7 separate regions of the Homo sapiens genome follow, and all the other regions are linked to region 4. The links are contacts of gene promoters, found by promoter capture Hi-C in blood cells and fetal thymus (Javierre and others, 2016). All regions are on one chromosome and are shown on one strand. The core of a region is centred on a gene start or on the middle of the fragment in contact, and the rest is flanking DNA. Distances in the headings are between cores, read along the strand shown. Region 1 overlaps XPNPEP1 (X-prolyl aminopeptidase 1). Region 2 overlaps RBM20 (RNA binding motif protein 20). Region 3 overlaps RBM20 (RNA binding motif protein 20). Region 4 holds the start of SMNDC1 (survival motor neuron domain containing 1). Region 5 overlaps RBM20 (RNA binding motif protein 20). Region 6 overlaps XPNPEP1 (X-prolyl aminopeptidase 1). Region 7 overlaps RBM20 (RNA binding motif protein 20).

What was found. The method cuts DNA at HindIII sites, captures the fragments that hold promoters and counts their contacts. A CHiCAGO score of 5 or more calls a contact.
Region 1: a contact is called between a fragment that was not itself captured here and the fragment with the promoter of SMNDC1 in region 4, in 8 of 17 cell types (total CD8 T cells, monocytes, non-activated CD4 T cells and 5 more). The highest score is 8.0, in total CD8 T cells.
Region 2: a contact is called between a fragment that was not itself captured here and the fragment with the promoter of SMNDC1 in region 4, in 6 of 17 cell types (M1 macrophages, M0 macrophages, M2 macrophages and 3 more). The highest score is 9.8, in M1 macrophages.
Region 3: a fragment that was not itself captured here is called in contact with the fragment with the promoter of SMNDC1 in region 4 in 8 of 17 cell types (naive B cells, endothelial precursors, M2 macrophages and 5 more); the score reaches 8.3 in naive B cells.
Region 5: a fragment that was not itself captured here is called in contact with the fragment with the promoter of SMNDC1 in region 4 in 7 of 17 cell types (M2 macrophages, M0 macrophages, total B cells and 4 more); the score reaches 10.5 in M2 macrophages.
Region 6: a contact is called between a fragment that was not itself captured here and the fragment with the promoter of SMNDC1 in region 4, in 1 of 17 cell types (monocytes). The highest score is 5.5, in monocytes.
Region 7: a contact is called between a fragment that was not itself captured here and the fragment with the promoter of SMNDC1 in region 4, in 5 of 17 cell types (fetal thymus, naive B cells, M2 macrophages and 2 more). The highest score is 7.2, in fetal thymus.

The regions. Positions count from the first base shown.
Region 1 is chr10:109,890,416-109,894,288 of GRCh38, reverse strand. XPNPEP1 (X-prolyl aminopeptidase 1) reads left to right here. Exons shown (of 21, transcript NM_020383.4): 4 at 1,214-1,277; 5 at 2,463-2,567. Among named protein-coding and RNA genes, the nearest start is that of XPNPEP1, 31 kb to the left of the region's middle. RefSeq lists an enhancer at 2,101-2,160. The HindIII fragment of the contact is 945 bases long and covers 1,993-2,937 here.
Region 2 is chr10:110,713,679-110,717,865 of GRCh38, reverse strand. The region is part of intron 1 of RBM20 (RNA binding motif protein 20); the gene reads right to left. Among named protein-coding and RNA genes, the nearest start is that of RBM20, 71 kb to the right of the region's middle. The HindIII fragment of the contact is 1,973 bases long and covers 1,881-3,853 here.
Region 3 is chr10:110,752,960-110,757,279 of GRCh38, reverse strand. The region is part of intron 1 of RBM20 (RNA binding motif protein 20); the gene reads right to left. It also overlaps the pseudogene RN7SKP288. Among named protein-coding and RNA genes, the nearest start is that of RBM20, 110 kb to the right of the region's middle. The HindIII fragment of the contact is 624 bases long and covers 1,915-2,538 here.
Region 4 is chr10:110,302,755-110,306,987 of GRCh38, reverse strand. It overlaps SMNDC1 (survival motor neuron domain containing 1), which reads left to right and starts at 2,068. Exons shown (of 6, transcript NM_005871.4): 1 at 2,068-2,240; 2 at 3,401-3,520. The coding sequence starts at 3,401. RefSeq lists a silencer at 2,237-2,556. The HindIII fragment of the contact is 6,895 bases long and covers 1-4,233 here.
Region 5 is chr10:110,735,617-110,739,653 of GRCh38, reverse strand. The region is part of intron 1 of RBM20 (RNA binding motif protein 20); the gene reads right to left. Among named protein-coding and RNA genes, the nearest start is that of RBM20, 93 kb to the right of the region's middle. The HindIII fragment of the contact is 2,781 bases long and covers 938-3,718 here.
Region 6 is chr10:109,873,024-109,876,797 of GRCh38, reverse strand. XPNPEP1 (X-prolyl aminopeptidase 1) reads left to right here. Exons shown (of 21, transcript NM_020383.4): 15 at 1,199-1,270; 16 at 3,371-3,431. Among named protein-coding and RNA genes, the nearest start is that of XPNPEP1, 49 kb to the left of the region's middle. The HindIII fragment of the contact is 1,787 bases long and covers 1,545-3,331 here.
Region 7 is chr10:110,793,817-110,797,665 of GRCh38, reverse strand. It overlaps RBM20 (RNA binding motif protein 20), which reads right to left. Exons shown (of 14, transcript NM_001134363.3): 6 at 18-158. Among named protein-coding and RNA genes, the nearest start is that of PDCD4-AS1, 75 kb to the left of the region's middle. The HindIII fragment of the contact is 5,481 bases long and covers 1-3,849 here.

The sequences.
Region 1 (3,873 bases), core at 1,216-3,715, 410 kb after region 4:
AAGTGCTAGGATTACAGGCATGAGCCACTGTGCCTGGCTGAAAGGGGTAGTTCTTAACCATATAGCAGGAAAGGAACATGAGGGCCTTTTCCCCCTACATCATGTTGACTGTCCTAAAAATGCCTTGGGTCTGGCCAGCAGCCCCATTCCCCACCCTAAACTTTCTTAACCTTGCCAGGTCCTTTGGCTTGGGAGAATCCTGGTAACTGCAGAAGGAGCAGCAGCTCTGTACTCAGGCAGGCCTGGCTTTGGATCCTGACCTACTATTAACTTGTAAGTGGGCAGCTTACTTAAAGATTCTCTCTTTGAACCTCAGTTTTCTCATTTGCTATTGGTCTTATCCTAGAGAGTGATGAGGGCGAGAGATAAAGTGTCATGCATTGGCAGCCTGGCATAGGGCTTCAGAGTCCAGACTCTGGAGTTGACTGCTTAGGTTCAAATCCTGCCTCTGCTACTTAATTAGCTGTGTGATTTGGGGCAAGTTACTTAAACTCTCTGTGCCTCACTGGCTATTACCAGAAGTTGCACACTTTGACTTGTACCCTTTGCCCACGCGTAAGAATTTCTTACTTTCTTCACTCCCTAACCCCTTCCATACAGAGGCAAGGGGATTATCAGCTGAGAAGACCTTGGTTTTGGACATGACATTTTATTTTGCTGAAGCCTCCTGGATTGGATGAAGCGTTTCCGCTCACTCTGTAGCAGGAAGGGACAGGGTCTGCATGGGAGAGATTGGTGATGCTACCTCAGAGGAGGACCCAAACAGGAAGTTTGGAAACAAGTCAGTATCTACAGAAACTTAAGTTAGGGAATTGTTGGTGCTTAACACAGAAATTCAGCCTTACTTTTCAGAAAAATAACAGATGCCTAAATGTCAGTGGCAAGGAGGGGAGAAGGCTATTATTGGTTTGATTTTTGAGTAAGATCTCAGTGAAGAAAGAGCAGTTTTTATCTGTTTCTCCTGATGTGCTTTGGTTCTCCTAATGAGGAAATAGAGGCTAAAGGGAACAGCTCTCTCTGCCCTTAATTAATTCAATCTTCTGCAGTGTGTGCTAATCTGTTGTTTTCAGCTAGACTGTTGGCTTCTTGAGGGCGGGGGCCAAGGATTCCCCAGTCTTCATAGTCCCCGCTGAGCCTAGCACAAGGCTAAGCAGGCAGAACAGTCTGCTCATGACTGATCGAGGCCCACTTTGTTGTCATCTTTGTTTTCCAGAGTGAGTATATTGCTCCATGTGACTGTCGGCGGGCTTTTGTCTCTGGATTCGATGGCTCTGCGGGTGAGTCACTACTTTTTCTCTGTTCTTGCTGCACCTTTGTTCGCCTCCTAAAAATAACTGAACCGAGTTTCAGCCTGTGATATAGAAGCAAAAAGAAAATGCAAACCAGATGCTCCACATTGACTCTCTGCAGAAAGGTGTGGGTTCCCAGTCTTTCCCTGCTCCCCAAGGTCACCTTTCAGTAACCCTTTTTATTCCTCTCTGTATCTTTGCTTCAAAGTTTTAACAATTTTTATTTTTAAAAAGTTTTTGAACTTTTTATTGAATATAACATACATATAAAAGTTCTATCAATTAAACTGAATATACCTGTGTTACTAGCACCCCAAATAAGAAATGAGACTTTAATATAGTTTCAGAACCTCCTCTCTTAGCTTATTGGTCCCAGATAATTCTCCCAAGTGCTTGGCTTTTGGTTTCTGTTTTCACTCTTGGCTTAAATAACAAAGGTTAACTCTAAGCTGCATTGGTGTTCCTCAAAACCATTATGCCTTTGAGTTTTAGGGTGGACTCCCCACTTCAGGTTTGTTCTCTAAAGCAAGCTGGACAAGGTGGGAGCTCCCCTCCCCTCATGGTTAGCATGCTGCTTCCTTTGGCGTAAGTGCTTGTGTTGGTTGGCGCATTAGGATTGGCTTTGGCTGACACCTCTGCCAAAACCCCAAGTTCTGCCAGGCCTGTGGGAACGGAGGGCAGATAAAGGTAGGAGGCATAAGCTTCCTGCTAGTGACCACAGCAGGAACACTCATAGGGCCCACTTGGTCTTTCTCCAGGAAAGGTGAAACAGCTCCCCTGGGGTGTCTGGTGGAGCAGAGGAGTGGCTGTAATTGCTGAGCAGGAACCATCCCTCCCTGTGTCTTGTTGATTATACGAGACCACTTTGGCCATAGGTCTACAGTTCTCCATTCTCTGTTCTTGACTCATACTGTGCAAGTGGAGTCCTTTTTGTGCAGGGACCAGTGCCAGGTAGCTTGGGTCTCAGGACTGTTCTTTCAGAGCTTGACACACAGCTTGTTTTCAGTAGTGTGGTCTTCTCTTGCCCAGAGGTTTCTTTGGAGTCAAGGACCCATCTGCCCCACTAGGAGCTGATGCCTCTTACTGCTCTTGCCTGTCTACTGTCATTTTGTGCAGCTTCTGAGCAGTTGTTAGAAACCTTTCTTCTTCTTTTTTTTTTCTCCCCTGCTTCAGGCACAGCCATCATCACAGAAGAGCATGCAGCCATGTGGACTGACGGGCGCTACTTTCTCCAGGCTGCCAAGCAAATGGACAGCAACTGGACACTTATGAAGATGGGTGGGTACAGGCATGGCTAGCCCAAACTTAGTTGGCCTGATCTGGGCAGGGATCCTAGAGGTCCTCAGGACTCCTGGATCTTAATCCTTTTATGCAGTCATGGACCCTTTTGAGAATCCAAGGAAAACTGAGAAAAAAAAAAATGGCATGCCTATACATACGTACCAATGTGCATTCAATTTTGGAGGACGCTGGTTCAGGATACTTATTTTACTGAGGGGAAACTGAGGGCTAGAGAGGACAGTTGATTTGCTGCAGATCACATTGCTGTGCATTTCACTCCTGTACTGGGGGCCTTCTACTATTTGCTGCCTCATGATTCAGAGTGAGATAAAGGCAAGGAGTCATTGGCAACAGAAGCCAGAAAGCTTTCCCCTGAGGCTCTCTCTGAGGATCTTGGATTTGCTTCTGGAAGCTTAGCTCTGGAGAAGAGCAGCATTCAGGACAAGCGAACAGGTCTGGAACTTGCTTGGGCTAGTCGCTTCACTTGAGTGCTTTAGTTTCCTCATCTGTAAAATGGGTTAATCACAGTAAGTAACATATAAAGTGGTGAGAATTAAAGCATTACTATGTGGAAAGCATATAGATCAATGTTTATTGAATAATGTGTGTATATACTCTGTGTTTTCATTTAATTTTCTGCCGTGTGTACTTTCCTGTCATTAAAATAGTCTTTAGAAACACGGTTTTAGGGACTGTACAAAGTCTTTGCTTCCTGAATTTTGAACTTGGAGAACAGAAGATAAGGAAGGGCCAAGTGAGAAAGAGAAGATGAAACAAAATACCTGATGCTTCTTGTTTGTTGTAGGAAATAATGAGGAAAGAAAATAGTCCTCAGACTCACAGCAGGAAACAGAGGACTAGACCATGACCTTGAGATCCAGGCAGCCAGCTGACTGAGGGGTGTGTGCACTCAGGTGTATGCCACACACCCTCCACATACACACACATGTGTTCTTTGTCTTAGGGAGGAACAAGGAACATTTTTGTCTTGGCATTGGATTAAGTTTCTATTTCTCAAAAATCATTTCATAAATATAAAAACACCAAAGCTACAGATTGTTGCCTGTTGCTGCAGTTGATTTCTCTTTCCCTTTCTCTCTCTCTCTCTCTCTCTCTCTCTCTCTCACACACACACACACACACACACACACACACACACACACACACAAAGGCAGGCATTTGAAGCTGGCTGTTATAAATGGACAAGCTAGTGGCCTTTAAATTTTTTTGTTTGTGTGCTTCTGTTAATGGGAGTCAAGCACCCGCAACATGTATGTATGTTTGTTTATTTGTTATTTATATG
Region 2 (4,187 bases), core at 1,618-4,117, 410 kb before region 4:
TGGGGCCAGTGCAATGGAGCGCTTTGGGTCACCTGCCCACTCCAGTGAGTGAGGAAGATCCCTTTGTGATTCCATGACTGATAGCCACAGTAGGACCATGTGAGGTGGATGAGGAATTCCCCTCAAGGAATCAAAACCAGAGGAAGAGGGATGGGAAACTGTGGCAGGCAGATGGAGCAACAGATGCCAGGATCCACTACAGAACACAAGTGAACAAGATCTGAACTGAGACCCAATGTCGCACAACCAGTCAACGGCAGGGGTGGGATTCAAATCAGGTGGGAGACACTTCAAAGCCCACACTCTCTCCACCTCACACTCAGTTCATTCCAGATGGCCAGGGGACATTGATGTCATCTCTACAGTAAGCTCTGCAGAACTGAAGGGGGTTCTTGGGGGCCTGTCACCCAGGAACTCCAGTAAACCCATCACATTCCATAAGTTTCCCTGAAGATTATCACCCTTGGAACAAAATGGGATTTGCACAGATGGAATTTTTCTGGAGAGGAGGGAGGAGGAGGGGGAGGAGGGCAGTAGAATATTTATGAGATTTGAAGGTCCCAACAGTACTTCTAAAGAATAGGAAAGAATGAGGGTGTAGTGAATTAAATATGAAGGCTGTCACTGCAGACCACCTTCACCAGCCTCATCATTTATTAAACACCTTATTTTGCATTGCAAAAGGAGCTTGGAGAGAGAGTGAAGCAGGCAGCACACAGTTCTGTCCTCAGAAGCCTGCAGTTGAGGATTGCCACACTAGTGCTGGGGCCTGTCACAAGAAACACGGACAAGACAAATGTGATATCAAACATTTCTTTATGCAAAAACCAAACAAACAATGAAAAAAACTCAATCAACCGATGTTTAAAACACAATTACAGGAAGGATAACAAGCACAGTTGTAAATTCAAATTTTCCATGTTTTAAATCTTTTTTTTTTTTCTTTTTTTTTTTGAGACGGAGTTGTGTCACTGAGGCGGGAGTGCAGGGGCACGATCTCGGCTCACTGCAAGCTCCACCTCCCAGGTTCCCGCCATTCTTCTGCCTCAGCCTCTCAAGTAGCTGGGACTACAGGCGCCCACCACCACACCTGGCTAATTTTTTTTTTGTATTTTTAGTAGAGACAGGGTTTCACCTTGTTAGCCAGGATGATCTTGATCTCCTGACCTCAGGATCTGCCCACCTCGGTCTCCCAAAGTGCTGGGATTACAGGCATCAGCCACCACGCCCAGCCATAATTCTTTTACTCTATACTCCAGTCATTTATTCCCCATGAATATGCATACTGAAATACCCACTGTCTTCTGAACTCTGATCATTGTTTCTTGTACACTGACTCCAAGTTAGGACATAATAACTTGCAATATTAGATCACCCAGATCACCCCAATCCCAAATCCTACTCTTTCAATGGCAATTGCATGAATAAAGGTAAACAGTACACGTTTAATTAGGCCAGATGTTACATAATTGAGACCTGGTCAATGGGCCTCCATATAGGCCTACAGAGCAGGAGAAGCCAGGTGCCCTGAGGCTCTGGGGTGAGGGTGGTATGCAGTTGCAGGAGTTGTTCTATGGCAGGAAATGAGGCTAAGCCTTGCCCTGGAGGGAGACATCTGGGGCCTTCTAAGGGGACTGCTTCTGCCCCTAATTACGCACCTACCATTCTACCTCCTCATTACTAGGAAAGAGAAAAGACCAAGACCTTCACACAGAGGATGCCTAAATTATTGATTAGTCTTTTCCAAACTGGAAAATTGGCAATACATACTTGACTTTTCATCACTTACATTATCCCCTTTTTACAAATGAAGAATGTGATACTTCCTGAGACAACTTTGCTGCAAGTGAGTGAGGGAACCAAGAACATAATCAAAAGCTTGTGGAGAGACTTCTAGTGCTCATGCTCATCTAGTTCTTTTCTTCTGGGCACACAGGGGGATTACGCTTTCTGCCTCCCTTGTAGTTAAGTGGGGACCATGTGATTAGTTATGGCCAATGGGCTGTGAGTAGACGTGATGCTATCTCCAGGCTGGGGTGAGACCCTTCAGTACTGTAATTGTAATTGCAATGTAATTGCAGGGGTGAGACCCTTCAGTACTCTCTCTTCCCCATCTCAGTGATCAAGGCCACATGTTCCAGTTAGCTCAGCTATAAGATGGTGGAACCCCAGTCATCCTGAGTCCCTGAGGAATCATATGGAGCAGCCCCTCAATATTCACCCAACCAAATCATGTAGGATTTGTGAATGAGTGAGAAATAAAATTTTTGTTGTATTAAACCTCTGGGGTTTTGTGGCTACAGCATAAACCTAACCTATCAGGACTTAACAAAAAAGACTTTAGTCTAGTGGAGGGCTAAGATATGTACATAAGTACAATGCAGCAAAGGAAAACTGACATTTGATGGCCTGAGCCATCTACAGTACTCAACCAACATCTGATGAAGGAGTACATGCATGGCTGATATGAAAGTGCTGCAGACAGTGTGATGACACAAGATGGAAACATTCACTTCCACTTGGGAGTTAGTCAGTAAAGAGTGATGGAGTATAGAAGTACGAATATTCACAAATTATGGGTTTTTTCTTTGTTTGTTTTGTTTGTTTGTTTTTGTTTTTGGACAGAGTCTCACTGTGTCGCACAGGCTGGAGTGCAGTGGTGCGATCTTGACTCACTGCAGCCTCTGCCTCCCTGGTTCAAGCGATTCTCCCAATTCAGCCTCCCAAGTAGCTGGGATTACAGGAGTCTGCCATCATGCCCAGCTAATTTTTGTATTTTTAGTAGAGTTGGGGTTTCACCATGTTGACCAGGATGGTCTCGAACTCCTGACCTCACGTGATCTGCCTGCCTCGACCTCCCAAAGTGCTGGGATTACAGGCTTGAACCAATGCTCCCAGGCAATAAATTACATTTTAAAAACCTTTTGGATTACAGATATTATTTTCATCAACATCATTTGGGAAGGCAATCCTTTTTCCCTGGGCCACCCCTCCAACAAGTGACTTGAAGACCAGGAGACAATTCAAGCCAGCTGGAGCCTCCACCCTGAGCTGCTGGGTCTCCAACCAGGTCAACTACTAGGGAAGGATTCTTCTTGGAAGATGGACCATGTTGCCCCTTCTCAACAATTCTAAGGGGCTGAGGACAACCAGGAAGGACTGCCTCACCTGGTACTCTATCTGCTGCTCCTACTGGTGACTCCTGTTGGGCATGGGCCACCCACAGCTCCCAGAGGCTGTTCCTGCTCTCTTGGGGCAGCAGCTCCTCCTGACAGCTGACAGCAGCTGCTCTCATCAGCAGGTCTCTCAGCAAGTTCTAGAAGCAGAAGTTGCTGCTGTCAAGTAATGGGATCTTCTAGGAGTACCTTGGGTTGGAAGCTCTTGGGTCCTCATTGTCTGGCCCTTCTAGCAGTTCCTAGGAGCCTAGATGGTCAGGTGGTCAGCTCAGTATGACTACAACCACTGCAGAGCACAGCTTCAGACAGGCCAGTGCTAAGCCAGCTTTATTTGTTGCAGCAATGGTACTAGAGACATCTGCCAAACAATACTCCTTTACACAACCTTTTCATTGACCTCCAAGAACTGCAGATATGGTTACATTTCTAGCTACCCAGCATGGGCAAGACCCAGGTTCATGAGGCTCTTGAGTCAGGGAACACTCTTTTCTTTCTTAAGAGGGTCTCCTACCATTCCCTAATCCCAACTATGCCAAGGCTCAAGTGTCTACTCAGGAGGCTTAGCATGTCCCAAAGTCCTCTTCCCATAGCCCATCTTCAGAATCAGGAGCACTGCCATGACTGTAACTCCAGGCACAGATCTGCTTAGCCAGGTCCTCACAGGAGATGGGTAAGCTTCATTCTAATAACATTCCTGGGTGATGATCCTTTGGGCCATGTATCTTCTAGGGATTAATACATCTGAATATTATCAGTCTTCACAATGAAGTATTTCTTACTGTTCCCAACTAGCCCAAAAACGTAGTCCTTAGTAGGCTGGAAAACGCACTGGCACAGGGATAAGGAGCCCGGGATTGTGGTTCCAGACTTGCCACTTACTAGCTGGGAAACCTGAAAAAAATAATCCCCTCTCTAAGCTTCCATTTCTTTATCCATAAATTGAGGTCAGATGTGCTCTACCTACTTTAGGGAATGGTTGCGAGGCTGACATTAAATTGATGAATGTGAGTC
Region 3 (4,320 bases), core at 977-3,476, 450 kb before region 4:
CAAAAGTCACCTTTGTTTAGGATCAAAATATTCAGCAACATAGAGGAATAGAGCAAAGAAAAACAGTGTGTGCTTGGGAGAATAATAAGCAATTAGAAAGCAAAATAAAAGCAGGTGGAATCTGTGCTCTGAACCACACTAGGAAGGAATCCTCATAGTCAAGGAAGCTGGGGGACTGGAAGCTAACAGCCCAATAGCTTGCCAAGAAAAAGAGGGGGCAGCTTGGAGAAACTTTGGCAGTATATCCTCTAATTCTTGCTGAGGGAACAAATCTGATTGTAAGTTGTTTTTCCCTGAAAGAGCACATGGCAATTGTTTGCTGAGGCTTTAACTGATCTCTTAGTGACATTAATTAATAAATGCACCAACCTCACTTGTGTAGGAACACTGCAGAACACTCAATTTTGAGAGAATTGGCAAGGAGATACCAAGTTTGGGTCCTTCTAAGTTTTATTAATTCAAATTCCAGTATCCATTATGAAATGATTTCCAGGAAATGGGGTCTGCTCTGATGCATATATCGTGACAACCACAAGGTTGTATAAGACCTGGTGACAGCCAGAAAGATTAGCTCCCACCTTCAGGCTTTCTGCATTTTGTCTTTTGCTAAGTCTTAAACAGAGAAGCACAATCACCTCCCTACCTTGACCAAATGATAGAACTCCTCTGGACAGAAAGGTCACATTCACTGCCATGAGCCCAGATGTGGGAGGAATGTGCATTGAGGTATGAGGAGGGAAGAGATGCCAGCTAGGCGGATCAGCCACATCAAACCTCGTGAGCAATGGGATGACAAACATCCTAGCCAGATCACTTTCACAGCCATCCTCAGTGGCTCCTCTAAATCTCAGCTTCTCTCTTAGGTGGGCATACTTGTGTTCTCTGTATAGGAAAAGACTAGAAGCGTTCTGAGGGCACGGATGCCACAATACCCAGCATGGTGCTTTCCACAGAGGAGAAGTCCATTAAGTGTTTTCTGAATCTGTAAATGATTTACAGGCTTTTCCTCATGTTGATTATAGCATCAGAGGTTTCCATCCAAATCTGGGATATGAGGACTGAACAGTCAAGAATTCATTCTTAACACTCAAGGTTTAAAGTTTTAAAATCGTGATCCAACACCAACTGGCTAAATCGTGATGTTGAGGGGAGCCCAAAGATGGGACTCACAAACCTGGCCCAAATTTATCCACTGAAGTATCCTGAGCCATGGCCACAGTCAGGAATCCGCTGTCATTGTCACAGATGCACGTTGGAGCGTTAAAGATCAGGGCATGCATGAGAGAAGAGGCTGCTGACTAACGCTGTCTCCACAGCCTGAATCAAAGCCAGCTGCCCTAACTTGAAGGGGCTGGATGGTGGCCACTCCAGGGCAGCTCAGGGCCAGGCTGAGGTGGTTGGGAAGCCAGCTAAGAGTAGTTTTCCCTTGGTGGTCATTTTTTTTAAGGCAAGGATGAAACTTATTGGCCAACCAATTAAAGTTACCCCTTGAGGAAACAACAGATGGCATCAAACAAGATGGGCTTTTCCATTCCCCAGTGTTAATGTGCAACCAGTAAAAGTCTCTCACCTTTTCCCCCAAGATGGGACACCAGGTCAATATCCCATGTGGCTACTAATATCTTAAAGCAAATAAAAACTTGTGGCCCTACATTCCCTTGATTTTTTCTGCACTGTAAATTTCTAAATTTCCTAAAGACACATAACACAATTATTAAATTGTAAATAAATATTAAACACAATTGTAAAATTTTACACAATAGAAATGTAATAGCTATTTCCTACGAGGGAAGGTTAGGTGATTGAATTATTGGATGAGCCCTCAGCTAAAAACAACTCTGAGTAAGTAACCATAAAAACACTGAAGAGCTGAATGATAGCACATCCCTACCAGGCTGATTTAGGGAGAAAGCTTTAACCTAAAGAGACTCGAGGATGATTTGAGTGCCAAAGCTGCTTTTGCCTTGCAGACATCAAAGGGGTAAGGATGAAAGATGTCAGGGCCCAGAGCACATCTGATGTAGACTCTTACAGGAGACATATACCTACAGTAAGCTGGGTCCCAAAGGGCCACACCCTCAGGATTAGGATGAACCAGGAGTAATATGTCACTTCCTGTCCCCCCCAAACCCATAGGCCCAGAGAGAAACCTGAGCAAAGCAAGAGAGGAAGTAGGAAGGGGATAAAATTACCCCTGAGATGTGACCAGAGGCCTGCCCTCATCCAGATTTGCACCCCAGGGTTCTATATCATACATGGACAATGAATTTCATTTGTAGTGACTCCAAAAGGCAACCAGAGGAAGGAGAGCACACTCATTCTAAGCCTCAGGGGATCTCCACACATAATTTCTTTACGGGCAATAACTAGTGAAATTGTCAGGCGTATCAGAAAATAGATCATCAGGCATAGAAGGAAATAAGGCAACATGAGTGAGAACCAGCATAAACAGCAGAGAGCAGAAACCGACCTGGACACACTTCAGATGCAAACTCAGTAAGTTTATATTTGCTAACCACATGAAAAAGTAAACAAGCTTGCAAATATCTGCAGAGCACCAAAAACTGTAAAAACTGACTTAGTAGATTTGGAAAAGAATCAAACAGAACTTCTAGAAAGGAAAAATTTAAAAACAAATGAAAATCTTATTGAAGTGTTTGGCAAAAGATTAAAAACAATAGAAGAGAGAATTAAGGACCAGAGGTTAGATCACAGGAAATTGTTCAAAATACAGCATCAAAAGCAAAAATATGGAAAGCACAGAAGAGTGGATTTAGACTATAGGGGATAAGTCAGAAGGCCCAACATATATTTGACTGGAGTCCCAAAAGAGGACAATGGGGATGGGAATGAGGTAATATGGAAAAGATAAAAGCTGAGAATTTTCCAGGACTATTGAAAGACACTAAGTGGTCAAAAGACCAGAGAATCCCAAGCAAAGTAAATGTTAAGGAATGTACACCTAGACCCATCGTAGTTACCAGTGATCACAGTGATTAAAACCAAGAGAAAAGCTTAGAGAAAAAAATATACAGATTATCTTAAAAGGGATCATACTTAGACTAAAAAATATCTCAACATCAAAAATGGAAGCCAAAAGACAGTGGAATAATATCTTTAATACGCTGAAAGAAAATAATGACAAATCTATAATTCTGATGAGGAAAGATGAATGACCCCCAAAGATATTCAGGTCATAGTCCCTGGAAGCTGTGAGTGTTACCTCATATGGCAAAAAAGACTTTGCAGGTGTGATTAAGTTGAGGATCTCAGAATTTAGATCTCATAACCTAGATGGGTAGATTTGGGTGGGCCCTAAGTGCAGTCAGAAGTGTTATACAGGCCAAAGAGGGATTTGACACAGAGAAGGTGATGTGACAGGAGAGAGATTTGGAGATGCTACAATGGCTGCTGTCTTTGAGGATGGAGAAGGGGGCCATGAATCAAGCAATGCAAGGAATGCAGCATCGCAATGCTGGGAAAAGAAAAGATTCCCCCCTAGAACCTGCAGATGGAGCGCAGCTCTGCAGACACTTTGACTTTAGCCCAGGGAAACTGATGATGGGCTTCTGCCTTCCAGAATCAAAGGAGAATGAATTTGTGTCGTTTTGAGTCACCAGGTTTGTGGTAATTTGTTACAGCAACCAGTGAAAACTAAGACAACTGCCACAAATACCCTGCCACAGTGAAGTGAAATCCAGGAGTTTTCAGGCACGCAAAGAGTTCCTCACCAGCAAGGGAAATTCTAAAGATTACATTTCAGGCAGAAAGAAAGTGATCCCAGATGGAAGACTGGAAACACAAAAAGGAATGAAGAGCAAAGAAAGTGACAGATGCATGATGAGTAAATCCAAATGAACTTCCACTGTGTAGAACAATATATTTTGTTGGTGTTCTTTAAAAATATAGAATTAAAATACAAAACAATGAGAGAAAATAAGTTGGGAGTGGTTAAACATTTTTAGAGTGTTCCAAGGACCTTGAGTTACTCTATGGGAAATGAAAGCTTTGATAAACTTTAGACTGTCAGTATAAATATTATAATTTCGCCAGGCACGGTGGCTCACACCTGTAATCCCAGCACTTTGGGAGGCCGAGGCGGATCACAAGGTCAGGAGTTCGAGACCAGCCTGACCAACATGGTGAAACCCCGTCTCTACTAAAAATACAAAAATTAGCCGGGTATGGTGGCGCACGCCTGCAATCCCAGCTACTCAGGGGGCTGAGGCAGGAGAATTGCTTGAACCCGGGAGGCAGAGGTTGCAGTGAGCCGAGATCTCACTGCTGCACTCCAGCCTGGGCAACAGAGGGAGACTTCAT
Region 4 (4,233 bases), core at 819-3,318:
AACTAAAGGTTTAAGATACTTTTTTTTAAATAAACATGATTAAGTTTGAATGCAAATGTTTTAAGAAAAATCAGACACTGAAAGTAAATTTTGACACTTCAAAGGAAATAGTAATTCAGAAAGCCTATTTGAAGTATTGCTCTTAGTTTTGTCTGCTCCAGTTTTGTCTGGAGCAACACCGCATACAATTGTGAAAATTAAATGAACCTGTGTAAAGTGCTTAGAATGGTATCTGGCACATACAAACTGTTATTTCTTTGTGAAAATTAAAATTCAATATAGCTTTTCTTTATAAATGAATGTTGCATAGATAAAAACAATCCTAAAAACAATCCTGAAAAAATTATTAAGATGGTATAGAAATCTATGATGGAACTTATAATGAATATTTGCCTATTTTCTGATCTATGGGGTTCAGGAAAAGTTCTCATTTAAGAGATTTTTACACAATAAGGTTGACTTTATATTCAAGGAAGTTCCTCCTCGCATCGGTTCTTAAAACACACAATTACAATAACAGAAGTTCTCTAAAACTACATTTTATTTTAAACGAATATTTATTTAAAAGCACATGCTTTCTGTTTTGTCTGCCTTCTTAATTCTAGCTACACACTGCTGCCCTCTGCTGCAATTTCAATCTTTCACACTCACAAACCCGACCTAGTTTCCATCTATACAGGTTATCTGACTCACTGCAAGGGTTATGTGTGTGTGTGTAGAGAACAAAAGGGAAGGCTCCTTGAAAAGAAAACTAGGAACTAAAGATGTTGGCACAGTTCAAAAGAGCCCATCTGAGAAGTGGGCCTTTTTTTTTTTTTTTGAGACGGAGTTTCACTCTTGCTGCCCAGGCTGGAGTGCAATGGCACGATCTCGGCTCACCGCAACCGCCGCCTCCAGGTTCAAGCGATTCTCCTGCCTCAGCCACCCGAGCAGCTGGGATTACAGGAATGCACCAACATGCTCGGCTTTTTGTTGTTGTTGTTGTTGTTGGTTTTTTTTTTTTGTATTTTTAGTAGAGACGGGGTTTCTCCACGTGGTCGAGCTGGTCTCGAACTCCTGACCTCAGGTGATCCGCGAGAAGTGGGCCTTTTTATGGATCCAGCAACAAACTCCCAACCTCCCAGGAAAGGTTGCTTCCTGTCATCTATATAAAACTTTGTGTCTCAGGCCTTTATTGCTTTTTTAATTGAAATAAATTATATATATATGGTTTAAAAAAAAAAGAAAAGGAAAAAGGGTAAACAGCAAAGAGGGTAATCAATAAAACATTTGGCTTCCACTCCAAACCTCTGAACAGTTTTGTGTATCCGTCCAGAAAGCGTATATATTATTACAAACATACACAAGGGGCATTTCTTTTTGAACACAAATGTGAGTATTCCTACCACTCTTTACCATTCTAGACTAACTTGGACGTTGTTCCCTATCAGGCGAGATTAACCCAACTAAATTAAAACCAAGTAGGTTTTAACAAAACAGATTTTAAAGAAATCAATCTTCTCTCCAATAGGTTATTTCTGTCACGATTTAATTAGCTTTCTGTTACTACTAAGGCTTGTATCATATAAAGTAGTGGTTCTCAGGCTGGGCGCGGTGGCTCACGCCTGTAATCCTAGCATTTTGGGATGCCGATGCAGGAGGATAGCTTGAGCCCAGGAGCTGGAGACCAGCCAGGGCAACGTAAAGAGAGCCCCCACCAACACCCCCCGCCACCCACCACCACCGCCCCGGAAAAGCAGTGGTTCTCAAACGTCAGCGGACATTGGTATCATCTGGTGAGCTTATTAAAACAAGAGTCTCTGGATTCAGGAGGTCTGGGGTGGGGCTTGAGAATTTGCATTTCCAATAAATTCCAAGCCGGAACTCCAGGAAGATAACCTGCATTCCGCGCCTGGCGAAGCCCAGCTACGCCATTTCCTTCCTAGGCCCCGCCTACTTCGTGTCCCTGACAGCCAGGGACTGGCTAGAGGGCGCGCGGAGTCACGTGAGTCGAGCGACCTCGCGCGAGAGTTTGTATTTCTCGCGAGACTTCACCGTCTCTGTCTTTTCCTCCTTCCAGTGCCCGGCGTTCCTCCCTTCCCCCTCGCCGCCGACCGAGTTCTTCCTTTTCAGACCGGGTCGCCTTGCTGTCGTCGCGGTGATTTTCCTGCTACTGCTACTGCTGCTGCTGCCACCGCCACTACCACTGGGCTCATTTGCCCCGACCCCTTCCCGCCGCCCCGCCCCCAGCCCCACACAAGGTAACAACCCCCCTGAGGGAGAGAGTAAGGCCTGGCCGGGCCCGGGTCCCTCCCGAGGTGAAGCGGAGGCCCAAGGCTGAGGAGCCCGCCTCGCCGGAGACGCCCAGGCGCTGGCCCTGGATCCCGGAGCCACGGCCGTCTCTCAGCCAGAGCTGAGCCTCGGCGGCCCGGCCGGCGCTGGCCTCCGTGCGGCGGCGGCAAACACGGCCCGCAGGGGACCGGGTCGGGTGGGGCTGGGCGCCGCGCGGCTCCCTGTGGAGCCTGCCTGTTGGAGCGCGGCGGGGCTCCGGCGGTGGTCTTGGAGCTGGCGTGTGGATTTCCACGTCCGAATGATCGAGTTGTGGCGGGCTTTGAGGTGCTGCGTGGCGGGGAGGAGAGCAGCCTGGGTCGCTGTAACTCTTAGGGGGCCTTTGCAGGCTCCCAGCCTTTGGTTGGACGGGAATTTTACGAAGGAGAAGGGTCCTCGGAAACGTGGTACATTTGCTTATAAACCATCAAAAAAGGTTAATTGGTATCTTATTTTCAGGAAAATGACTGAGCTGGATTTGGCGAAAGGCACATTCGTTAGAATGCCTAAATGGGAGAGTACCTGTGCTGTTCTTTTTGCTGAAGATAATGCACCGATAAATATTTAAGCGACTGGGCGAAAGATTTTTGTTTTGGAGAGGCACTTTTAAATACACTCTTAATTGAATAGTTCAAGTAAAGATCGTAGTTTGTGTAGTTAATTTAAAAACGCACTTGTTTGGCTTTGGAAGCATACTGTAGTGCTTAAAAATAAGTATTTGGATTGTTTTTGAAAGTTTCGACTTTTCCAACAGAGTAGTGCTTTTTAAAAAGATAACACTGATTATTGAGCCGAATTCAGCACCTACCCTGTGGATAGGAGTTAAAAGAAAATTAGAAATTTCTTTGTATCTGTATGCTTTTTTAAAGTATGGAATGTATCTCAAGTTTATAATCCTCAGAATCTGTTGCCTTTAAGTTTGTGGTTTAGCTGAAGTCTAAACTGAGAGTAAAGGTAATGGTGGTAAATTAAGCTGCAGTGTTAGAAGGAGTTAGAGGCAAAAACTGGTAATTCAGGCAGACAGGGGAGTTAGTTTTTTATGCCTTGATTTTTGGTTTAGTTTTCATGGTCTAACCCTTTTTATTTTCCCTAGATGTCAGAGGATTTAGCAAAGCAGCTGGCAAGCTACAAAGCTCAGCTCCAGCAAGTTGAAGCTGCATTATCTGGAAATGGAGAAAATGAAGATTTGCTAAAATTGAAGAAAGATTTACAAGTAAGTATGGGTAGACAATTGTACTTTTTCTCTGTTTTTCAAATTATTGCTTGAATCCCTAAGTACCCAAAGCGCCTTTTGAGGGGTTACACCCCACCCTATGTATATATGTAAATTCTGTAGGTACCATTGCTTGTAGAAGTAGGGTTGCTTCCCCAGTTCTCAGGTTTCTGTACATCAGAGTGAAATATTGTTCTTTGTTATATAAATCTTGTGTGCTTACATAATTTTTAAAAACTAAAGTTGATAGAAATTTCCAAGTCTGTCAGATTTTCAAGACGAGAGGTACATGTAACTTCACAATGAAAAACGCTTTTAGTTTTTAAGACCTGGCAAATGAAATTTAGTTCAAAAAGTAACAAAGATTGAAGGAGAAAAATAGAACCTTAAGATTCTTTTTAATACCACAAGATTCTTTGAAAATGCGTGCCTTTTTTTTTTCCCCAAAGCTAGTGGATTACATTTTGTATTGAAAACACACCACAAAAATGCCTAAAGAGAGACAAGTGCTTTGTATAATTGTTACATAGATGTTCAGACTTAAGGCTAGGTTTTACAGTAAAGTTGTTGACACTTGTGGAAATTGAACTATGTGGTGAAAAGGAGATCTTTGTCATGGTAGAGTTTAGTAGATAATGAAACCTTTTTTTGAAAACCTGCACTGGGATTTCAAGACAAACATAGAGCCATCATAGTAAATACCTTTTGTGTTT
Region 5 (4,037 bases), core at 1,079-3,578, 430 kb before region 4:
CTGGTGCTCTTTCCCCTGCCACTCTGCCTTCCACCACCACGTCAGTCCTCGAGTTGAGTTCTTTCTGGAAGGCTGTAGAAAACTGGTTTCCAACTTTCCAATCCTAGATTTTCTTTCTTTCTTATGCCTACACACAAGCACTTTTCCCTAATGTAAAATTCTCTGAGGGGTCAAGAGATCCGGCAGCTCATCAAAACAATCCATTTTGAAAGAAAATTTTGGATGAATATAAACATTAAGAGGTTGGGGAATTTTGTCTGTTTTTGTTCACTGCTGAATCCCTAGTGTCCAGGACAGTGCGAGACACAGTAACCCAGAGTGGGCACCTAATGAATGTATATTGAATCAACACTCTTCCAGATTGCAGATTCTTGCAAAATTTTCATGATCTCCTGCTCAAATATCTTCCTAAAAACACAGCATGACTTCAAGAGCCCTCAACTGTACTAAAGTAGTTACATACATATAGCATAAATCAGACTATGCAGGCCTTGGTCCTCAGGAGGACCTGTCAACAGACAGAAAGACATCCATCTGATCCTGTGCCCAGCCAGAAAATGCCACCTGCGACAGGTACTTCCTGACTGTCCAGACACCTCCCCATACTCTCTCAGTTACAGATAAACTCCCTTAAGGATTGTGAGCAGCTGTGGACCATTTCAAATGCTTCCTACTAATTCTTGTAGCTGAATGGGCCCTTCCTGCTCTGCTGTGATACGAATCTGCAAGGAAGGCGAGATCTGGAGAGTTCTCAGACCAACACACCTCACAGCTATAGGTCTGGGCTCCCATCACAGGCACAAAGGCTGCAGCCCCAACCCCAATGTCAGCCTCGCCACCTCCTCTATCCCCATTCCCGCCTCCATGCTCTGGCACCTTGGCACTCCTTCAGCTCCAGGAACATGCCCCGCGTGCTCTTCCAGCTTCCTGGGAAGCTTCTCCCTCACCGTACCCTGGTATACTCTCCTCATCCCTCCAATCTCAGCTGTGTCACTGTTTCAGGAAAGCCCCCCTTCCATGCCACCCTCTCCCCCAGCCCAGATCCACTTCCTATGTCATAAGTGTTAGTCCAAGTTGCACCGTTTCGTAAGCTCCCTGTCATTTCACAGACCTTGGTCAAAGTGAAACATTCCACGGGGGGTTCGGGCCGTGAGAAACAGCCTGACCAACTGCCTGACTTTGCTGGGAGAAAGGGCAAGGAACATCACATTCCACCAGAACAAGGGCCAAACCACCTCATCGTGGGAACATGTTATCAACATTTTCCCAGGCAGCAGGCCATGCTCCCCCCAGACCCCTCCTGCTCAGGCCTATAATTGCCCCAGCCTGTAAGCAGCAGTGGGCACTGGCATTAAGCTGGCCCCCAACCTCTGCAGGTTTTATGTTGGACATAAAGCCTATGTTTTGCTGTAGGGCCGCCAACTCTCTCTCTGTTTTTCTTTAACCCTCACCTTCCCTTTAAAAAACCTAACAGTAAGCTGTCCTGGGATCCTGCCTCTTTCCTCTTCAGCACTTACCTCCATGGCAATCACACCACCTTACCTTGGTGTTTGCTTAATTAATGCTGGCACAAAAGCAGAAACCACATCTGCTTCTGCTCCTTACTATTCCCAATGCCTCACATAGTGCCTGGCATATAGATGATGATTAATGATGACAAGAATCTAGCAGCAGGCAAGACCTGGTCTTATAGGCCCCAGTAAGGAAATTTAACAACCCAGCAATTCCACCCCAGGTGTATACCTGGCAGAAATGTGTACATATGTTCTCCAAAAGACACGTAAAAAATGTTCACAGCAACATTCTTTGTAATAGCCAGAAACTAGAAACAACCTATATCCATCAAGAGTAGAATGAATAAATAGTGGTGTATTCCTGTAATGGAATACTACACAGCCGCGAACACTAACCAGGTATAATTATTTGCTACAACATGGATGAATGTTACGAACATAAAACTGAGTAAAAGAAACTTAGGCACAAAAGAGTATACACCATATCATTCCAATTACGTTAAACTCAAAAAAAAAAAGGCAAACTAATCTATCTTCAGAGAGGTCAACATTGTTAAAGATCGTCAGAGGCTGAAGAGTGACTCAAAAGGTAGCCACTTGTTCCTGGGGTGCTGGTAGTGTTCTGTTTCTTGATCTGGATGCAGGTTTTTAGGGATATGTTCACTGTGTAAAAATTTATCAAGCTGTTCACACATTATTTCTATACATTATACTTTAGGACCTTAGTCATTTCAGATTGCTAAACCTTAGACCAGGTAACTTAAAAACAATAGAAATTTATTGCTCAAAGTTCTGGAGGCTGGGAAGTCCACAATCAAGGCACCAGCAGATTTGGTGCCTGGTGAGGACCACTTCCTCATAGATGGTGCCTTCTTGCTGCCTCCACTCACATGGTAGAAGGGGTGAACAAGCTCTGTTGTTTTTGAGTGTGTGTGTGGGGTGTTTTTTTTTTTTTTTTTTTTGAGGCAGAGTTTCACTCTTCTTGCCCAGGCTGGAGTGCAATGGCACTATCTCAGCTCACTGCAACCTCTGCCTCCCAGGTACAAGTGATTCTCCTGTCTCAGCCTCCCGAGTAGCTGGGATTACAGGCGCGCAACACCATGCCCGGCTAATTTTTTTGTATTTTTAGTAGAGATGGGGTTTCACCACGTTGGCCAGGCTGGTATCGAACTCCTGACCTCAGGAGATCTGCTCACCTCGGCCTTCCAAAGTGCTGGGATTACAGCTGTGAGCCACTGCGCCAGGCCGGGTCTTTTTTATAAGAGCACTAATCCCACTCATGCCTTCATGACTTAATTGCTTCCCAAAGGCTCCACCTCTTAATACCACCATCTTGGGGATCAGGTTTCAAAATATGCATTTTGGAGGGATACAAACATTCAAACCATAGCATTCAATGAAGAGCTTACTGAAAAAAAGGAAAGAAGGCAATTCCTCCATTAGGTGGTGGTGGATCTCAATAGGCCCACAGGGTGTTTGGCAGAGCCAGAGCACAGCCTCCACTGCTCCAGGCATGTTTCTGCATTCCCAGCACACACGGACACCTGCAACCACCATGTCCCTCTCAGTTTCTGTCATCTGGATTGGTTTCTTTCTTTCTTTTTTTTTAAGATGAAGGTAAATATTTAAATTTTCTCTCCCAAGAAAATTCAGATGAAAACAGGATAAGTATTCAATGACCTAATCCAAAAAGTGTATAAAATTTAAAGCAAAGACAAAACAAAATAAAATACCTAGTTCTATACAGCAGTTTTATACAACAGTGTCTTGACACGCACAGATAGTGTGTGACTAAGAAGGGAAAAAGAAGCAAGGAATGGAATTCAGTGCAAACTGGGTATATTGTGTGCAAATGGCATTTGTAGAGAAGTAAATGTGTGGAATGTAATTTGGGAAGATGGACTTTATATCTTTAATTTTTGTAAAAACTGCATTGCAATTTTCTTGCTTTAAGCAACTCCTTCCCAAGCCCTCTGGTTGCAAAACTGTGACTTTGTAATCCTAAATACATGTTATTTGAGATTTGCTGCCAAAAAATTGTGTTTCATCTCCAGGTCTGAAAGTGTGAATGTTCTGGGCAAATGCACTTGTGCTCTCTAAGGAAGACAGGCTGGCGTGTGGAAGGGTTGGTTCTGCCCACCGCCTAGTTAATCTGCCATCAGAGGGAGATGGGTGGGAGATACCATATCTTCAAAGCCTAAGCTTGTGGTTAAATTCCAGAGCCTTTCACTCTTGGGGTGAATGTTCACTAATCTAGCCATGAGATCAGCAATCCTGAACAAATACCCCAAACTCCTACTAAGATACATGTTAATTAGTAACTTTGACTTATGTACCTTTCGTGCATGGGTCAGTGTCCTGAGCTCTACATGTAGTAGCCGATGCTTAACTAGAAGGCATAAAACCTTGAGATGGGGCAAACAGACATGCTCATGCGCTAGATGACTGTTTTCATCAAAACAAAAGCAAATATACCTTTCACCCAGCAATCCTATTTACAGAAATGTATCCTTCCGATGGACT
Region 6 (3,774 bases), core at 1,189-3,688, 430 kb after region 4:
GCTTTGCACTGGGTATTTTGAGTTCTGTGCATCCCCATCTGTTACATGCACAGCCAACAAAAGAACACTGTGCTTGGGCACACACTTTTTTCCCCCTTTTAATAATTGTTTTTAGAGCTTTTAGTCTTGGGGCAGATTTTGAAGCTGTGTGTGGGAGACAGTCACAGATGGGACAGTACAGTTTCCTCACTTAATGCTTCTGTTCCAGCATAAAAATATCAGAGGGACTTCAGTTTTTGTTTAACTCAGGATGAATTTCCTGGCTGGATACTATCCTAGAATTTTCCGTATAATTAAAACATTAAACAGTTTCATGCCAGTGGAAGAAATTTGCCTCTGCGTTGGCATTTCTTCATTGTGGGTGGTTGGAAGCCTGTTTAGAGGCGGGGTTCTGGAGGTACTGGTTGTCTTTTTTAGTTGTTCAGCTTGTGTGTGGACTGGTGCCCTTATTGCTGAAGAGGGGGTGGTACCTGGAAATGGAGGACAACCTCACTTCAGCTGCAGGGCAGAGACTTGGAGTGCTCTCATCCCTTTGGGTGTTTCCCAGTGCAGTGATATTGTTTTGAAAACGGTGTGGGGAAAGAGATCACTTTTTGAAAATACCTCATGTTTGTTTGAAGCAGAAGAATATCGTGATCCATTCCTTTTCCCAGCAAAATTCCTTTAGTTTTTCTCCCAAGTTGAGACATCCACTCCTGCCTGTCTAGCAGTCTGGGGAGCGAGTGGGGAGGTACCTGCTGGGGTCAGGGCTGAAGGAGGGGCCTGGAGGCTGAGGCAGGGGCCTGGGGCTCCCAGAGACAAGCAAGGCTGCAGTGACTCCAGGCTGCTCCTGTCCCAGTTCCCAGGACTCTAGCTAGGTCCTGTTGCATCTAATCGTTCTCATTTTTTTAGCTTTTAGAATTATCTCTTGAACACCTATTTTGTTTCAGACACAAACAGAGGTAGACATAAAGAAATGTGTTACTTTTCCTTTGTTGAGCTCTTTATCTCAGCTGGGGAGATAGGTTGATTGGATCTTTGAAAAGTAGAAGTTTAATATTAGTTGAAATAATTCATTATTGCATAACTTTCTATTTTGATATAATTTCAGGCTTATGTAAGTTGCAAGAATAGTACAAAGAGCTCTTGTGTGTCCTCCTCCCAGATTCACTAAGTGTTTACATTTGTGGAATAATTAATTTTTAATTAACTTTGTTAGGCCAGTCCCTGAGACGAATAGGACCTTGTCCCTGGATGAGGTGTACCTTATTGACTCGGGTGCTCAATACAAGTAAGTAAACCAGGACTGCTGTGGAACTTGACTATGGATTCGAGGCAGTGGAGAAGGTGGACAGCTGAGCTCCAGCTGAGAGCACTCAGCTGGTCATCGCCCTCTGTGCTGGCCACTAATGGAATCGTTCCTGTGTCTTGTCATTTTTTTCACCCCTATTTGAAATAGCCCAGTTGTGACTCTGTTCTCACAAAAGACTGTTTGATAGAAATGTTACAGTCCTTGGCTGGAAGTTTTAAAAATATAAGTAAACAACTGTGAAGTAAAGCAAGCTTTTGGAACCGTTGAAAGTTTTCCACCCCAGCCCATGAACCGCCTGCCGGTTCCCTGTACTCTCAGCTGCCCCAGGGCCTTATGAAGTAAGGGATTAATTTTGAATGAATAAATGAGAAATGAGGGCTGCCCCCACATTTCTGAATTTCTTTCTCCATGTTTTGCTGCTTTCACGGCTATCATCTCTGGAACAAAGTTTCTCAGAGAAGAACCCAAGATTTGGTTGGGTCTTGATACGGAACCCAAAAGAAGGAGTAAGAATAGACCCTGTCTGCATTAAGAGGGCACGAGCAAGGCCTTTTTTTTGAGACAGAGTCTCACTCTGTAGCCCAGGCAGGAGTGCAGTGGCGTGATCTCGGCTCACTGCAAGCTCTGCCTCCTGGGTTGCAGCCATTCTCCTGCCTCAGCCTCCCAAGTAGCTGGGACTACAGGTGCCCGCCACCACGCCCGGCTAATTTTTTGTATTTTTAGTGGAGACGGGGTTTCACCATGTTAGCCAGGATGGTCTCGATCTCCTGACCTCGTGATCCGCCGGTCTCGGCCTCCCAAAGTGCTGGGATTACAGGCGTGAGCCACTGTGCCCAGCCGAGCAAGACCTTTTAGTGCTGCTCCATTCCCCACTGAAGTTGGGACTATGGCTAAGGGAGGACCTAATTATTGAATGAGCTCAGCCAATTACGTGGCAACCATGCCTGGCCTTGGGACACAGGGGTGTTAATAATATCAGCCTAGAGCTAAGGATTGCTTGATAATGGTGTAAACTTTTCTTCACTTCTAAATTTTTAGCAGGATTCTAGAAGTTATCCTTTCTATGTCAGGGATATAGTCTAGTGTGTGTTAAGATATGTACTTGGATATTTTTAGGGTCTCTGTCCAGGAAACCCCCTGCTGTTCTAACAGGAGAAGTTGGGTTTTGGCCCTCTTTTGCTAGAGATGGGCTCCTGTTTTCTTTGCCTTCTTCTGTCTTGTTCATAACCCCAGTGATAGTGTCTCTCGTGAAACAGCCCTTATGCTGTAGACCAAGAATGCGTGTGTCAGGGGCTGACGTCACTCCCAGTTTATTTAGCCATCCCTGCATTCACACTTTGTTTCATTTTTTAAAATAACTTCATTGGGGTAAAATTTATGTACCATGTAATTCACCCACTTAAAATATACAATTAATTTTTTTTATATATTCACAGAGTTTTGCAGCCATCAGCACAATCAATTTTAGAACATTTTCATTACCCCAAAAAGAAACCTCATACCCAATAGCGGTCACTACCCCCTTTTCCACTACCCTGGAGAACCACTACTCTCCTTTCTGTATCTATGGATTTGCCTATTTTGGACCCTTCATAGAAATAGAATTGTATTATGTATGGCTTTCTGTGTCTGGCTTCTGTCATTTAGCACAATGTCTTCCAGGTTCATCCATGTTGCAGCATGTATCAGTATTCCATTTCTTTTTAATTACTGAATGGTATTGCACTGTGTGGATAATCCCCCATTTTGTTTATCCATTCATCAGTTGATGGACATTTCAGCTGTTTCCATCTTCTGGCTATTATGAATAATGTGGCTGTGAACCTTCATGTACAAGTTTTTGTGTGGATGTATGTTTTCAGTTCTCTTGGATATATAACTAGGAGTGGAATTACTGGGTCATATGGTGACTATATTTAACCTTTTAAGGAACTGCGAACTATTTGCAAAGATGGCTGTGCTATTTTACATGCCCACCAGCATTGTATGGGGCTTCTCACTTGTCCACATGCTTGCCTGTGTCATATTTGACTTAAAGCTTATTTTGACGGGAAACCAATTTGTCCTTTTTTTGGAAAGGGATGGCACCACAGATGTGACGCGGACAATGCATTTTGGGACCCCTACAGCCTACGAGAAGGTAAGGTGGAGGTAAAAAACTCAAGAGGTCCTCTCTGCTTTCTTAAGAAGAGCATTGCTTTTATGAAAAGGGATTGTATAAAGAAGTAAAAATTACATGTGGGGTAGTAAAATTGCTCCTTGCTGTGGAGTCAGGCTTATCTGCTTTACGAGGTTCATTTAACTAATTATTGGAATAAGACATTTGGAGAAATTTTTAAAGCATTCTGCTAAGGTTAGGGCAGCTCAGGTGTAAGTTTAAATATAATAGCTTTGGCCTTCTCTTGAGTCAGGAAATGCCTTTGAGGCTGGGGATGAGAGAGTGAAATACATGCTTTATAAGCAGTGCCTAGATTTGATTTTGA
Region 7 (3,849 bases), core at 1-2,500, 490 kb before region 4:
AAAGTACCCAGACCTACCTGATTAGTCGACTTCATGAGGATGTAATTAGTGACCTTTCCAAAGGGCAGCCCCAGGTTAATGACGTCATTCTCAGTGCAGCTTCCTTCAGGGAGATTGCAGATGTGCACCACACGGCCAGCCCCTTTCCGCTGTGCAAACTAATGGGAACAAAGATCATTAGTGGTATTCAGAAGACGGTTCCCTTTTCCCCTCTCTTCCAGACGTTCTTAATGGCTATCTTTCCCCTAAACAATGATTGTAAAACTATAATTTACAAAATTAATGCAGAAAAAATCCATTCACAGACACACATAAAATATCAATTTTATTCTATCTCTTTACAAAAGGATTCATTATATATATATATATTTTTGAGACCGGGTCTCACTCCCATCACCCAGGCTAGAGCGCAGTGGTGCAAACACGGCTTACTGCAGCCTTGACTTCCAGACTCAAGTGATTCTCCCATCTCAGCCTCCCAAGTAGCTGGGACCACAGGCATGCACCACCATTTCATAATAATGTTTTTTATAAGCAGTAACAACGAGGGCTGTGGAGGATATGAGGAAATGCACATATCCATATGTTGCTAGTGGGAGGTTGAGTATCTGTAAACTTTTGAGAATATACTTTAGCAATATTAAATAAAACAAAGTATACAGAGCCCATGATCCTGCCATTCCACTCTTAGAAATGTATCCTATAGAAATAATAGCACCCCAATATGTGATGGCTCATGTGCAAGAACATTTATTACAGTAATTTATTAGGTGGCAAAAAATTGGGGGAACAGCCTGAATGTCCAACAATAGGGAAATGTTTGAGTAAAGGATGGCTCAATCATAAAATTGAAAACTACATAGCCATGACAAGAAGGAGGTAAATGTGCTGATATAGAATAATTTTTTTTAAGAAGTCAGAGTCTTCCTGTACCACTCAGACTAGAATGCAGTGGCACAATCATAGCTCACTGCAGCCTTGAACTCCTGGGCTCAAGCCATCCTCCCGACTCAGCCTCCCGAATAGCTGGGACTATTGATGGCTTGAGCCATCACACCCAGCTGATTTTTTAATTTTTATTTTTTGTATAAACAGGGTCTTGCTGTATTGCCCAGGCTAGTCTTGAAATCCTGACCTCAAGTGATTCTCTCACCTTGGTGATATGAAATACTTTTTAAGACAGATTGTTAAGTTAAAAGCAGGTTACCAAGTGGTATGTGTACTATAATGCCATTTTTGGAAAACAAAAATATATGAAAAAAGACAGATGAAGCAAGTGTTGTAAAATTTTGATAATTATTGGAATTGGGTGATGGGTATACAAGGATTAATTATACTGGTCTCTACTGTTCCGTATGTTTAAAAATTTTTGCAATAAAAAATGCTTAAAGAATATCAGCACATACAGACAAAGATGTGCAGCATATATATCAACCTGTCAATGCTGGTTATCTTCAGAGAAGCAGAATGGGAAGGCAGTAAGATGAGACATGCTGAACCTTCTTCATATATACCTCATGTTGTTTGACTTACAATTCCAATAAAGAAAAAAGAACATAGAAAGTTTGTGGGAATCTAATACATATGCATTGATATTCACAGCAAAAACCTGTGGTTTAGGGCAGTGGTTTTCGAAATATTTTTAGCTTGGAGTCCTTTCTTCAAACAAAACTGGTTTATCCCAATGTATTCAACAAATAAAAGAGGAGCTATTCTGGTCAAACCTTGGGGTCCGGCACCCTGGCACGACCCCCACCTGGCAGTCTCAAAGGCACCTCTAAGGAACACAGTTTGGAAGCCAACATTTGGCCCTAATCAAAGCTCCTGGAGGGAGGAAGTGTGTCTGTCTGTTTTGTGCAAACCTTAATCAGCCTGGAATCTCTGGGAGGGTCAAGAATTAGTAACCATAAGCCAACCCAATGTGGAAGAGAAGGATATAATTTTCCGAACCTGAAACACATTCTAATAGCATAGTCTCCATTTGCATAATCACAATTTTCTATGTTAAACTGAACTTCTACATCTAATTACATTTGATGTGGGGCCGACTCTGCTAAGGTAATACAGGGGGAAAGTCTAAGATGTCACCCCTAACAAGGGCTAATACTTGGGTAATTCTACCATGAAAAGCCCTCATTTGTCTCATTTGAGCTGAAAACAATTACAGTCAATAAGAATTTCCTTTTATGGTTCAGCCCTGAATTGTTGAAGCCCAAGTGCCTCTTTCCGACCTCCCACTCTGCAATGTCCAGAGGTCAAGCACTTTCCCAAAGGGGAGCAAGGATTCAGGCAGCTCCCAGAGCAGCTCCTCATCTTCCTAAAGTGCAAATGGACTCTCCATCAGCTAGGAGACTTTGAGTCTGAGCCTGGCTAGTGAGGACTGAACCCTTCTGCAGAAACGAAAGGAGGAGTGCTATTAAGAAGCAGAATCTTTGCCTCCCATTAGTGTGAGTGTTCACTTAAAGATGCAGACACAGCTGAGCTTTCAAGCAGGGTAGAGTGGCTGGTCCTCTGAGCTTATCACAAGGACGGCTGAGGCTAGGTGCTCTGCCTGGTCTCTTAGCGAGGCACGTTTCTGCCCCATGTGACTTTGCTGTGGTTGGCCTGTGCTAATGTGTGCTTGGACAATGGAGCAGACACCCAAGGCAGTTCCAGGCCTATCCTGCTCCTGGCCTATCCAGTTGCCTAGTGAACAGGCATGAGGGCCAGTGCCTCTCTCATTGTCTCCTCCAGACTGAAAGGACAACTCAAGAGGCTTTTATTGGAACATAGCACAGCAACTGCTGCTGCTGGGTAGTAGAAAAAACAACCTCGCAGCTGCCAGTCACCAAAGAAGAGAAGCATTCATGCTGAAGATGTCGTTACCAAAGGCACTAAGTGAATGGGTCTCAATTAAAATTTCCAGTCAAATTTTAAAAAGACATCTTCTGAGTTCTTTCTCTTCCAAGATTTTAATCAGAAACAGATGCTGGATTTTACCAATTCCCTTGTTGTCATTTATTAAGACACTAATGAGATTTTTAGTATTCTTCCAGATAATAGTAATTTGGAGCTTTCCAATTATGAGCTACATCAACTGCAAATGGTTATAGGAGTGCCAAGATATTGATCCCTCAGGCTGAAGGCCAAGTTCCTCCAGTGATCATGAGTAGCTTCTTCAGTTAAACCATTTACTTCAGCAGATTATTTTCTAAGTGAGCCATGAAATGAAAATCTTGAGAATCTCTAGGTTAATAGTTTGCTTTTGTGTGGTGTCTGGCTTCAGGGCATGTGGTAAATCCTATCCAGTTAGAAAGATAAATTAATTTTTATGTGTTCTATTCTTTTGCCAATATTTTATTTAGGATGGTTCATCAAATTCTTTTCTGCCATTGATCTGAAATATCTTTGGGTTGTTGTTGAACTCCATTTAGGTTCAAAACCATATATGATTCATACAAGATGTAGAATAGTAGCTGTTTTCACTCTATTCTATTCTCATTACACTTTACATAAACATGGCTATTATTTGCCCTATGCCCTGTGGGAGATCTGAATCATGAGGGAAAAAGGGAGGGAGCGAAGGAGGAAAGTGAGAAGGGAAACAGGCGGAGTGAGGTCCCTGAGTGGTACATCAAAAGTACAGTTTGTACATCAGGGGCACCGGCAATCCTGAGTGCTCTTGAGCAAGCGTCACCATGCTACGCAGTAATTCCCAACCCGGGCTCTCTTATAAGCCCTTAAAGGTCTTCAAAGGTAATAATACCACAGGAAGCAGGGGGCTAAACATTATTCTTTACATTGAAAAATGCGAGTTGAGATCGTACTTTGAATTTCTTTATCAATATGGTAATGTGGTGTTAAATTCAA